Regions from separate parts of the Homo sapiens genome. Here all the other regions are linked to region 2. Evidence: promoter capture Hi-C in 16 types of primary human blood cells and fetal thymus (Javierre and others, 2016). All regions are on one chromosome and are shown on one strand. Each heading gives the region's core, a stretch centred on a gene start or on the middle of the fragment in contact. The rest is flanking DNA. Distances are from core to core; before and after follow the strand shown.

The links. The method cuts DNA at HindIII sites, captures the fragments that hold promoters and counts their contacts. A CHiCAGO score of 5 or more calls a contact.
Region 1: a contact is called between a fragment that was not itself captured here and the fragment with the promoter of TMEM184B in region 2, in 2 of 17 cell types (M0 macrophages and M2 macrophages). The highest score is 5.8, in M0 macrophages.
Region 3: the fragment with the promoter of SLC16A8 here is called in contact with the fragment with the promoter of TMEM184B in region 2 in 2 of 17 cell types (endothelial precursors and M0 macrophages); the score reaches 6.4 in endothelial precursors.

What each region holds. Positions count from the first base shown.
Region 1 is chr22:38,059,058-38,062,092 of GRCh38, reverse strand. It overlaps PICK1 (protein interacting with PRKCA 1), which reads right to left. Exons shown (of 13, transcript NM_012407.4): 3 at 2,748-2,859. Among named protein-coding and RNA genes, the nearest start is that of PICK1, 3.2 kb to the right of the region's middle. The HindIII fragment of the contact is 1,374 bases long and covers 948-2,321 here.
Region 2 is chr22:38,271,289-38,274,317 of GRCh38, reverse strand. It overlaps TMEM184B (transmembrane protein 184B), which reads left to right and starts at 1,308. Exons shown (of 9, transcript NM_012264.5): 1 at 1,308-1,434. RefSeq lists a silencer at 1,156-1,785 and an enhancer at 1,848-2,557. The HindIII fragment of the contact is 13,147 bases long and covers 1-3,029 here.
Region 3 is chr22:38,082,646-38,085,622 of GRCh38, reverse strand. It overlaps SLC16A8 (solute carrier family 16 member 8), which reads left to right and starts at 1,439. Exons shown (of 6, transcript NM_013356.3): 1 at 1,439-1,635; 2 at 2,262-2,581; 3 at 2,742-2,963. The coding sequence starts at 2,750. BAIAP2L2 (BAR/IMD domain containing adaptor protein 2 like 2) reads left to right here. Exons shown (of 14, transcript NM_025045.6): 14 at 248-723. The coding sequence ends at 323. RefSeq lists an enhancer at 1,174-1,955 and a silencer at 2,931-2,977. The HindIII fragment of the contact is 1,274 bases long and covers 278-1,551 here.

The sequences.
Region 1 (3,035 bases), core at 385-2,884, 210 kb after region 2:
TAGAATGAGGGCTCCGCAAGAGTAGGATCTTTGCTTTCTTATTCTTTTATCCCTAGTGCCTACAACAGAGCCTAGGAGGCATCTGGAAAAGATTTCCCGAACAAAATCTCCGTTGTACTAATATTAATTTAGCCAAAAATAGAAAAATAACTATGTTGGAAAGGTGGGATGAGAGGAAACAGACTGGTCATGGGAAGAACTAAATTCTCATCTACCAGACGAGGCAAAGTCAATAGATATTTACAGGTGATAGATCAAGAAACAACAGGATAGGCTGAGCACGGTGGCTCACGCCTGTAATCCCAGCACTTTGGGAGGCTGAGGCGGGTGGATCACTTGAACCCAAGAGTTTGAGACAAGCCTGGGCAACATGGCAAAACACCGTCTCTACAAAAAATACACAAAAATTAGCCAGGTTTGGTGGCACGTGCCTGTAATCCCAGCTACTTGGAGGCTCAAGTGGGAGAATCATCTGAGTCTGGGGAAATCAAGGCTGCAGTGACCCATGCTTGCACCACTGCACTCCAGCCTGGGCGACAGAGTGAGACTATTGAGAAAAATGGAAGCCCATGCATGAAGAGACAGAGAAAGCCGGGTGAGGTGCCCAGGGGAAGGGCAGTGGATTGCTATTATTTGATACAGGGCTTTTAATGCTCTTGACTTGGTAGAGGCAAGTCATATGGCACTTTGATAAAAACAAAATTGAATTTAAAAAAATCAATTCTATGATGATGATGATTATTATTATTTTTGAGACGGAGTCTCACTCAACTGCCCAGGCTGGAGTGCAATGGCACGATCTCGGCTTACTGCAACCACCATCTCCCGGGTTCAAGCGATTCTCCTGTCTCAGCCTCCCAAGTAGCTGGGATTACAGGAACCCGCCATCATGCCTGGCTAATTTTTGTATTTTAGTAGAGACAGGGTTTCACCATGTTGGCCAAGCTTGTCTGGAAGTTTTCACCTCAGGTGATCTGCCCACCTCAGCCTCCCAAAGTGCTGGGATTACAGGTGTGAGCCACCGCACCCGGCCAGTTCTATTATTTTATTGGCTGGTGGTTCATGCCTGTAATCCTAGCACTTTGGGAGGCTGAGGTGGGTGGATCGCTTGAGGCCAGGAGTTCGAGACCAGGCCGGCCAACATAGCTAAAACCTCTCTCTCCTACAAATACGAAAATTAGCTGGGCATGATGGCGCACACCTGTAATACCAGCTACTCGGGAGGCTGAGGCATGAGAATCGTTTGAATCCAGGAGGCAGAGGTTGCAGTGAGCTGAGATCACGCCACTGCACTCCAGCCTGGGCAACACAGTGAGACTCTGTCTCAAAAAAAAAAAAAAATCAATTATACTATTTTATGATGTCTGTTCATTCTAAGCAAACTTGCACCTGAGGTAGGTAGAGGGAGGTGGCGAGAGGCTGAGCAGACACACGGCCAGGAGGCCAGGCCTGGGGGAGGTCTTGCTAATGCCTCCTGGGTCACAGGAGGCCGAATGGCTCATGAAGGAGGCAGCACTGTGAGCAGAAGCAAGACCAGGTCGATCCTGGGAATCTGTCTTCGAGGCCTACAAGCGACTCCTGAGCAAGATCCTCACAGAGGCCAGTTTCCCATCTGCCACCAGTGAGAGGGTTAGAACAGGTATTCCCAAGGCTACAGCAAGGTCACTGACTTGGATGAGCCACACAGTGAAGGAGGCCCCACAGCAGGCCTGTCACCACTCCTGAGTTACAGTGGACAGAATATCACCAGTGCAGCTTCCTCTGCAAGAGACACAAGAGTGTTCCTCACCACTGGCAGAGCATCTGGGAAAATGTACAGCTACCTGGAAAATAGCAGCAGCTACTGCTTAATGCATGGTTCTTTCTTTTTTTTGAAACAGGGTCTCACTCGGTCACCCAGGCTGGAATGCACGGAATGCAGTGGCGTGATCTCAGCTCACTGCAACCTCTACTTTCCAGGTTCAAGCGATTCTCCTACTTCAGCCTCCCAAGTAGCTGGAAGTACAGGCGTGCACCACCACGCCCAGCTAATTTTTGTATTTTAGTAGAGACGGGGTTTCACCATGTTGGCCAGGCTGGTCTCGAACTCCTGACCTCGTGATCCACCCACCTCGGCCTCCCAAAGTGCTGGGATTACAGGTGTGAGCCACTATGCCTGGCCAATGCACGTTTCTTAACTTCTAGTGTGTTAGGTCGTTTTGTTGACTTCTCACAAGAACCCAGAGATGATTGTGTCTACATGTTTTAAATCCCCGCTTTCTAGGTGATGAAACTGAGGCCCAAAGAGGTTAAGTAACTTGCTAGTAAGTAGGAAAGAAGCTTGCATTTGAACTCAGGCCATTATTTCATCGTGTTCCTATGACACTTCATTTTGGCTAGTACGCAAGGCTGATGGTTTTGTTGATTCAATAGTCAATTTCTATTGCATGTCCACTATGTGCCAGGCACTGTACCTGGTGCTTACTGCAGTGAAAAAGCAAACCAGGACACTGCCCTCAGTGCAAAGAGTCTACTCTACTAGACAGAGGGCAAATAACAAGTAATAAGTGCCGAGAAGGAAAAAAACAGAGCGACACAGGGGAGAAGACAGGGCAGAGCAACGCAGCGCAGGTGGTCAGAAAGCCCCTCTGAGAGGGTCAGACCTCAAGAATGAGAAGGAGTCAGCTATGCAGTGTGGAGAAATGAACCTGCCTTTGTCATGCCCAAGTAGGGATGTACCTTGTGCCCCCCTCCAAAGCGCCCAATACCTGGACGATATAGAGGCAGGGACAGTACTGGGCCCCTCCTCCAATGCTGATCCCGATCAGGTTCTGAGCATCCTTCTGCAGGGTCACCTTCCCAGGCACAGTCGGGATTCCGCTAGAAAGGAAAGCAAGCTAGGCTGACTCTCCTGGCAGAAGGATGACTGGAGCGGGTGGGCCCTCTAAAACTCCTGAGGGGCTCCACTGGCTGCCCAGCTTTTTCTCTCCCTCCCTTGGACAAAACAACATTTTGTGCTGGAACATGCACAGCTCTTGGAGTTAAGCAGATGTGGG
Region 2 (3,029 bases), core at 59-2,558:
CGGATCACAAGGTCAGGAGATCAAGACCATCCTGGCTAACGCGGTGAAACCCCGTCTCTACTAAAAATACAAAAAATTAGCTGGGCATGGTGGCGGGCGCCTGTAGTCCCAGCTACTCGGGAGGCTGAGGCAGGAGAATGGCGTGAACCCGGGAGGCGGAGCTTGCAGTGAGCCGAGATCGCGCCACTGCACTCCAGCCTGGGCAACTTTGAGACAAAGAGCGAGACTTTGTCTCAAAAAGAAAAAAGAGAAAAAAAAAAAAGGATCTCCCTCACCCCTGAATTGATAGAATGGATCAGAGGGCAAGGCTGGAACAAGGGAGAGGGGTTAGCAGAACTCTGCAATAATCCTGTGCAAATACTGGACCAGGGTGGTAGCACTGGAGGAGGAGTGGCAGACATCTGAGTCTAGATCTATTTTGCAGGTAGAGCCAACAGGATCTCCTGCCTGCCTTATTGGGTAGCGGGCAGAAGGGGGGCATTCATTCACAGCTGACTCCGAGTTCTGGCCTGGGGACTGGAAGGATGGAATTGTCAACAGCTGATGGAGGCAAAGCTGAGAGGGAGCAGGTTTTTGTGTGTGGAAGTGGGGTTGGCTCAGCTCAGACACGCTGACTTTGAGATGCCTGCTGGAGCTCCAAGGAAGAGGTGTTGGGTAGACAGTTCAGGCGAGGAGTCTGGAGACATAAATACATTTGGGGATCTTGAGCACATCAATGCCAGAACTTAATTGCATTTTATCTTGTTCAGTTAACCTAGGTGATGTCTGGACCGGCAAACAGAAATGGACTAGGCGGCTTGAACCCTATCTGAAGACTTTTGCTAGTTCGGCAGCCTAGAGCCAGACGGGGCAAGAAAGAATCGCTGCTAAGCGGAGTGGGAAAAAAAGGCCTCTTTCAGTGCTTTGCCATTTCATCTGGCCTAATTGCACACAACACTCGGTCCACGTTCATTCCACAATTCCACACGCATCCTTCACTCAACAAATAGCCATTGTATTTCGTTTCATCTTCAAAACAGGCTCAAATGGAGGAAATTAGGGTTAAAAGAAGTGAAGCACCAGCGAGGGTCAGGGGCAGAGATCGCAGCCCAGAAAGCTCTCGCGGTTGGGGGCCGGTCGTAGCTGGTTTTGTGAGTGGCAAGAGAACCCGGGTCGCGCCCCAACCCGCGGGGCGGCGGGCTGGGGTTCGGGGCGGCGGGCTGGGGTTCGGGGCGCGGCCCCTTTAAGGCCCAGGCAGTGATCTCAGCCGCGTCCGCCGCCCCGCCCTCCCCGGCGGCGAGCCCAGAGCGCATGCGCGCCGCGGCTGCACTCCACTGGGCCCGGGACGCGCCGGCGGCGGCGGAGACTCCGGGGCTGCGGCGCCGCCCGCCCCGCCCGCAGAGTCCGGCTGCCGCGCATCGTCCGCAGACGCCGCCACCGCCATGGGCTCCTGAGGTATCCCGCCTGGCCGGCCTCGCCCGGGAGCCCCAAGGGGGAGCTGCGACTCCCGAGCGCGGGGGGCTGCTTGTTTCGGAGAGGCCCGCGCGAGGGACGCCCGGCTTCGGCCGCCGGCTCCCGGGCGGGGAGGGCACTACGGAGGCCGGTGCGGCCGCGGAGGGAGGGGGCATCCGTCTCCCCACCCGTGCCTCCTCTCCGCCCCGCGAGGTCGCCCGTGGGTGTGCCCGCTCCCTTTCCACGCCAACGTGGCGGGGGCAGCTCCTGGAGTGTAATCGGACCTGTCCGGGGGGCGGCCCCGGGAGAGGGAGGCGGATGGACCAAGGCGCTTTGCAAGAGGGATTGTGTGCTCCCGGGTGGGTGTGCTGGCGACTGGCACGGCCGAGTGAGTGGGGGAGGCGTCCGTGCCCTGTGCGGGTGGCAGTGACCTGGGAGGGTGGTCGGCGGGGGGCTTTCGGGGCTGCGTCGTGAGTGGAGGGTGTACACGCCCGCCACACAGGTCCGCAGGTTTGGAAGGGGATCGACTGGGACCTGGGGCTCGAAAGATGTTTGCCCCCAAAGGGACCGTGGAGACTGGTTTTGGGTGTCTGTATCCTTCCCGTGAATTGTACATTTCCTCCTGGGCACACCCTTGGTACCTCGCTTGGATCCACTTACCTCCAGTGCTGGGTGGCTCCAGGCCAAGGCAAGGCAGTTATGCTGGGGGTTGGGCATGGATTCCCAATACATATCCCCTCTGGAGGTGTTGTATAAGGCCAGACGTTTTACTCCTCCCTCCTTTCCAGGGCATTTTGGGGCAAAGCAGGTATTTGCATGCCTGATACCTGTGGTGAGGTGAAGGCCATGTATTATTTATCTGACTGCTGGTGCTTTTGTAAGGAAAGAAGCAGCAATCTGTGCCCTGGAGGCCCTGCGCTGCAGAGTCAGCCAGGCAAACAAGCTCACCTGCACCTGCAGAGGCAGCGCAGGTCTCAGAGGTGTGACTTCGTTGACAGGTTATGCCTACAGTGTCCCTTTCCATCTACCTATTTAGCTTCCTTGGTAGAACCCCTAGGCTCTGCACCTCTGAACCTTGCCTAGGGTGCTGTGCGTATCAGAGTTGGGACCTGGGACGCTGGGGTGGGAGAGCCCCAGCAGCCAGGTATGTGTGCCCACCTGGACAGAAACATTTGATGCCCAAGCCATCAAGGAGCTCTCAAGCATGGGGGAATCAGATTTGGAAACAGGTGATCACGATGATGTGAAAAATACCAAACAAAGGAGTAGAAGGAGTACAGAGGCAGGTTCAGTTCCCGGGGAGGGGGATCGTGGCCGCAGGAAAGACTCCCTCATAAGGAGACGGTTGAGCTGAAGCCTGAAGGATGACTGACGTTCATCTGAGGCTTTTCTGCTTTCCACATATATTTTCCTGTGTAATTTGCACAGCAGCTGTGTGAGTAAGGAACAGTTGTCCCTATTTGCAGATGCGGTAAACTGAGGCCCAGAGGGAATTCATGACGTTCTTCTCCACGATACGTGGCAAGCCTGGATGGAATCATCCTTTAACCAGGACCTCTCTCTTGCTGCCAGATCTTGTCTTGCAACTTACTGAGCAT
Region 3 (2,977 bases), core at 190-2,689, 190 kb after region 2:
AGTCCCAGCTACTAGGGAGACTGGGGCAGGAGGATCTCTTGATTCCAACAGTTCAACATCAGCTTGAGCAACACTGTGAGACCCTATCTCTTAAAAGAAAAAAAAAGATGAAGCGGGGCAAGGAGTGGATGGAGACCAAATAGGGGCAGGAGGCAGGACCCAGCTCAGTTGCCCAGCTGCCTTCCTGAGCCATGGCCAGGTGGGGATCATCTGCCCTTCTCACCCCATTCTCTCTCTCCTCCTACAGGGGCACAAATCCTTTTGCCACTGTCAAGCTTCGTCCCACCATCACCAATGACCGCTCAGCACCCCTCATCCGCTGAGGCGGGGTCCGAGGTCGTACCCCACAGTGCACCTGCCCAGGGGCTGTTCAGAGCTGGCAATGGCAGCGACAGCAGCAACAGCAGCAGATCCAAGAAGCGGGTCCCTGAGACGGGGGGTGGCTGCCCTCCCCAGACCACCCCGGCAGCCTGAGCAGCTCCAAAGCACTGGCTTGGGGTCCGAGACCTTCAAAGTAAAGCAGGCGGAATGGGGGGACAGGACAATTTCTCCCCCTCCAGGGGCTCCAGGACTCTCCCTGGGGGGCCCACCTCTTGCCCCCTAACCTCTTTCCCCCTTTTCTGCCCCCGTGGGGAGGAGCCCCTTGTACCTGCTCCGTGCCCAACACATGCCCTCTCTGTACATCTTTTGTAAATGATGAGAAATAAAGGAAGTGGACGCAAAGTGATGCGGCAGCAGGACTGGTGGTGTCTTATTTGGGGGACAGGGCAGGGGGTGAGGGATAGAGACTCCCCCATTGGAGAATGGGGTCTAGGGGGTACTGAGGTCCTGGCTGTTCCCCGGGAAGCCATCTCACTCCCAGCCCCTTGTTTGTTTGTTTGGAGAACTCTTTAGGGCTGCCCCAAAGCCCTCGCGCTGCAGCCCCCATCTCCACCTGCTCTCATTTCGACCTGTGGGTTTCCTAGGAAGTAGCGGCTGCTCGGGTCAGGGGAGAGGTGGCAGTGGCCAAGGGCTGGGACCACCAGCAAGCTGCCCTCAGGCGGCCTGGACACAGCACCCTTTGTTTTGGCCCCTCCCCCCCCCACATTCCCAGGCACAGGCGTGGATTAGCTTCATTCTAGAGAAAGCTGCCAGCCCCTCCTGGAATGTGGCCTGGGGCGGGGGGTTGGGGCGGGGGCAGATGAGGCACTGAGGTGATTAGAACCGTTGGGGTCTCTTCAGGGCAGGGCTGTGCCCCCAGCACCAGACTAGGACCCCCTGGGCAAGGTCTCTGTGTCTACCACCCCAGGCTCCAGGAGGCACAGGGATTCTCTTCCTCCCTCCTGGACTGGCTTGGGACAGGGAGCCCACCGCCGAGGCCCAGCCTGGCCTGGGGCTCCCAGTCTCTTCTCCCCTCCTGGACAAAAGCCTCTTAGCAGGGGTGAGGTGTGGTGGGGGCACACACTCTAAGCTCCAGGCCTGGGGCAGGGAGCGTCAGGCGGGAGTCGGCCAGAGGCTCAGCCCAGGCTGGTGGGAAGCTGGGGTGTCTGGCAGCCCCCATCCGGGTAAGCTTCACCGGGAGCTGCGGCGGCGGCCCCTCCCTGCAGGCCTCAGGAGATGTGAGGCTGGACCCCCAAACCCACGAGGCAGGCTCAGGTGAGTGTGATGTGAGGGCTGCCTGGGATCACCCTCCTGTCTCCACCTTCAAGTGGCTGCCCCTGTGACAAGAGGACAACAGGCAGGAAAAGCCACAACCTGGTCCTAGTGGAGGAGGGGCAGAGTCCCGGATACCCTGGGGGTGGTGGCACTGCCCAGTGCCAGGAGGGACACTCCAGGCAGGAGGGCAGGAGGCTATCCCCAGCCCCCGGCTCCTGGTGCACCTGTCTCTGAGTACACCCTCCTCATCTGTTATGGGGGCGCTTGTAACTGCTGTGAGGGCCCCGGGTGGAGCCCCAGGAATGAGACAGGCTTTGGAGCCATTCTTTTCATATAGAGGGTTTGAGGTTTGGAGGGCAGAAGGCCACTCTCTCAGTGCTGCTAAGGTTCCTACCTGTCTGGCAGAAGCCAGAGACCTGACTCCTCTCCCGCAAGATTCCCAGCTGGCCTCGGGGTGATCAATCACCCATCTTACATCGGAGGAAAGGGAGGTTGGGAGAGGGGAGGCGACCGGCCCAAGTCAGGGAGGGAATCCATGGCTGAGCTGAGATGCATGGGAACTCAGCTCCCCTGGCTGATATCTGTTGAAAGTGGCTTTTGTCCCCTTAATGTTCTAATGACAATAGTCATTTGTGATCACTGAGAAACATTAGGAACATGGCGGAAGGCTAAAGAGGAAAATCACGCACAGCGGCCCTTTGCAGCCGGCATCTGCCCCTCTGCTGTTTGTTCTGTTGTCCCGAGACCCTCACGCGTACGGGGCGACTTTGGTGCTGGACGCCCACCTCCAGGCACATACCTGCTCCACTTCCCGACGCCTTCCACCTGAGGCCCTGAGGGGCCAGCAGTTGTCCTTCAGAGGGAGCCTGCAGAGGTGCAGAGTCAGGTGGGACCCGTCGTCCTCCCCTCGTCCTTCAGCGCCCTTTGCAGGAGAAGGAGACTTGGGGTGAGAGTCCTACCTCCGTTTCCCCTTTTGGTTCCCAGACCTGAGCCACCCTCACGTGGGTAGCCCTGTGCCTCAGTTTCCCCATGCTTCGTCTCCATCCCCCTCCTTCTCTAGGCTGCTGGCCCAGCCCCTCCCTCTTGTCCCCGCCCCCTCCCAACAGAGGCAGCGATGGGCGCTGGCGGCCCCCGGCGGGGCGAGGGCCCCCCAGACGGCGGCTGGGGCTGGGTGGTGCTGGGCGCCTGCTTTGTGGTCACCGGCTTCGCCTACGGCTTCCCCAAAGCCGTGAGCGTCTTCTTCCGCGCGCTCATGCGCGACTTCGACGCCGGCTACAGCGACACGGCCTGGGTGTCCTCCATCATGCTAGCCATGCTCTACGGCACGGGTCAGTGTCCCCGC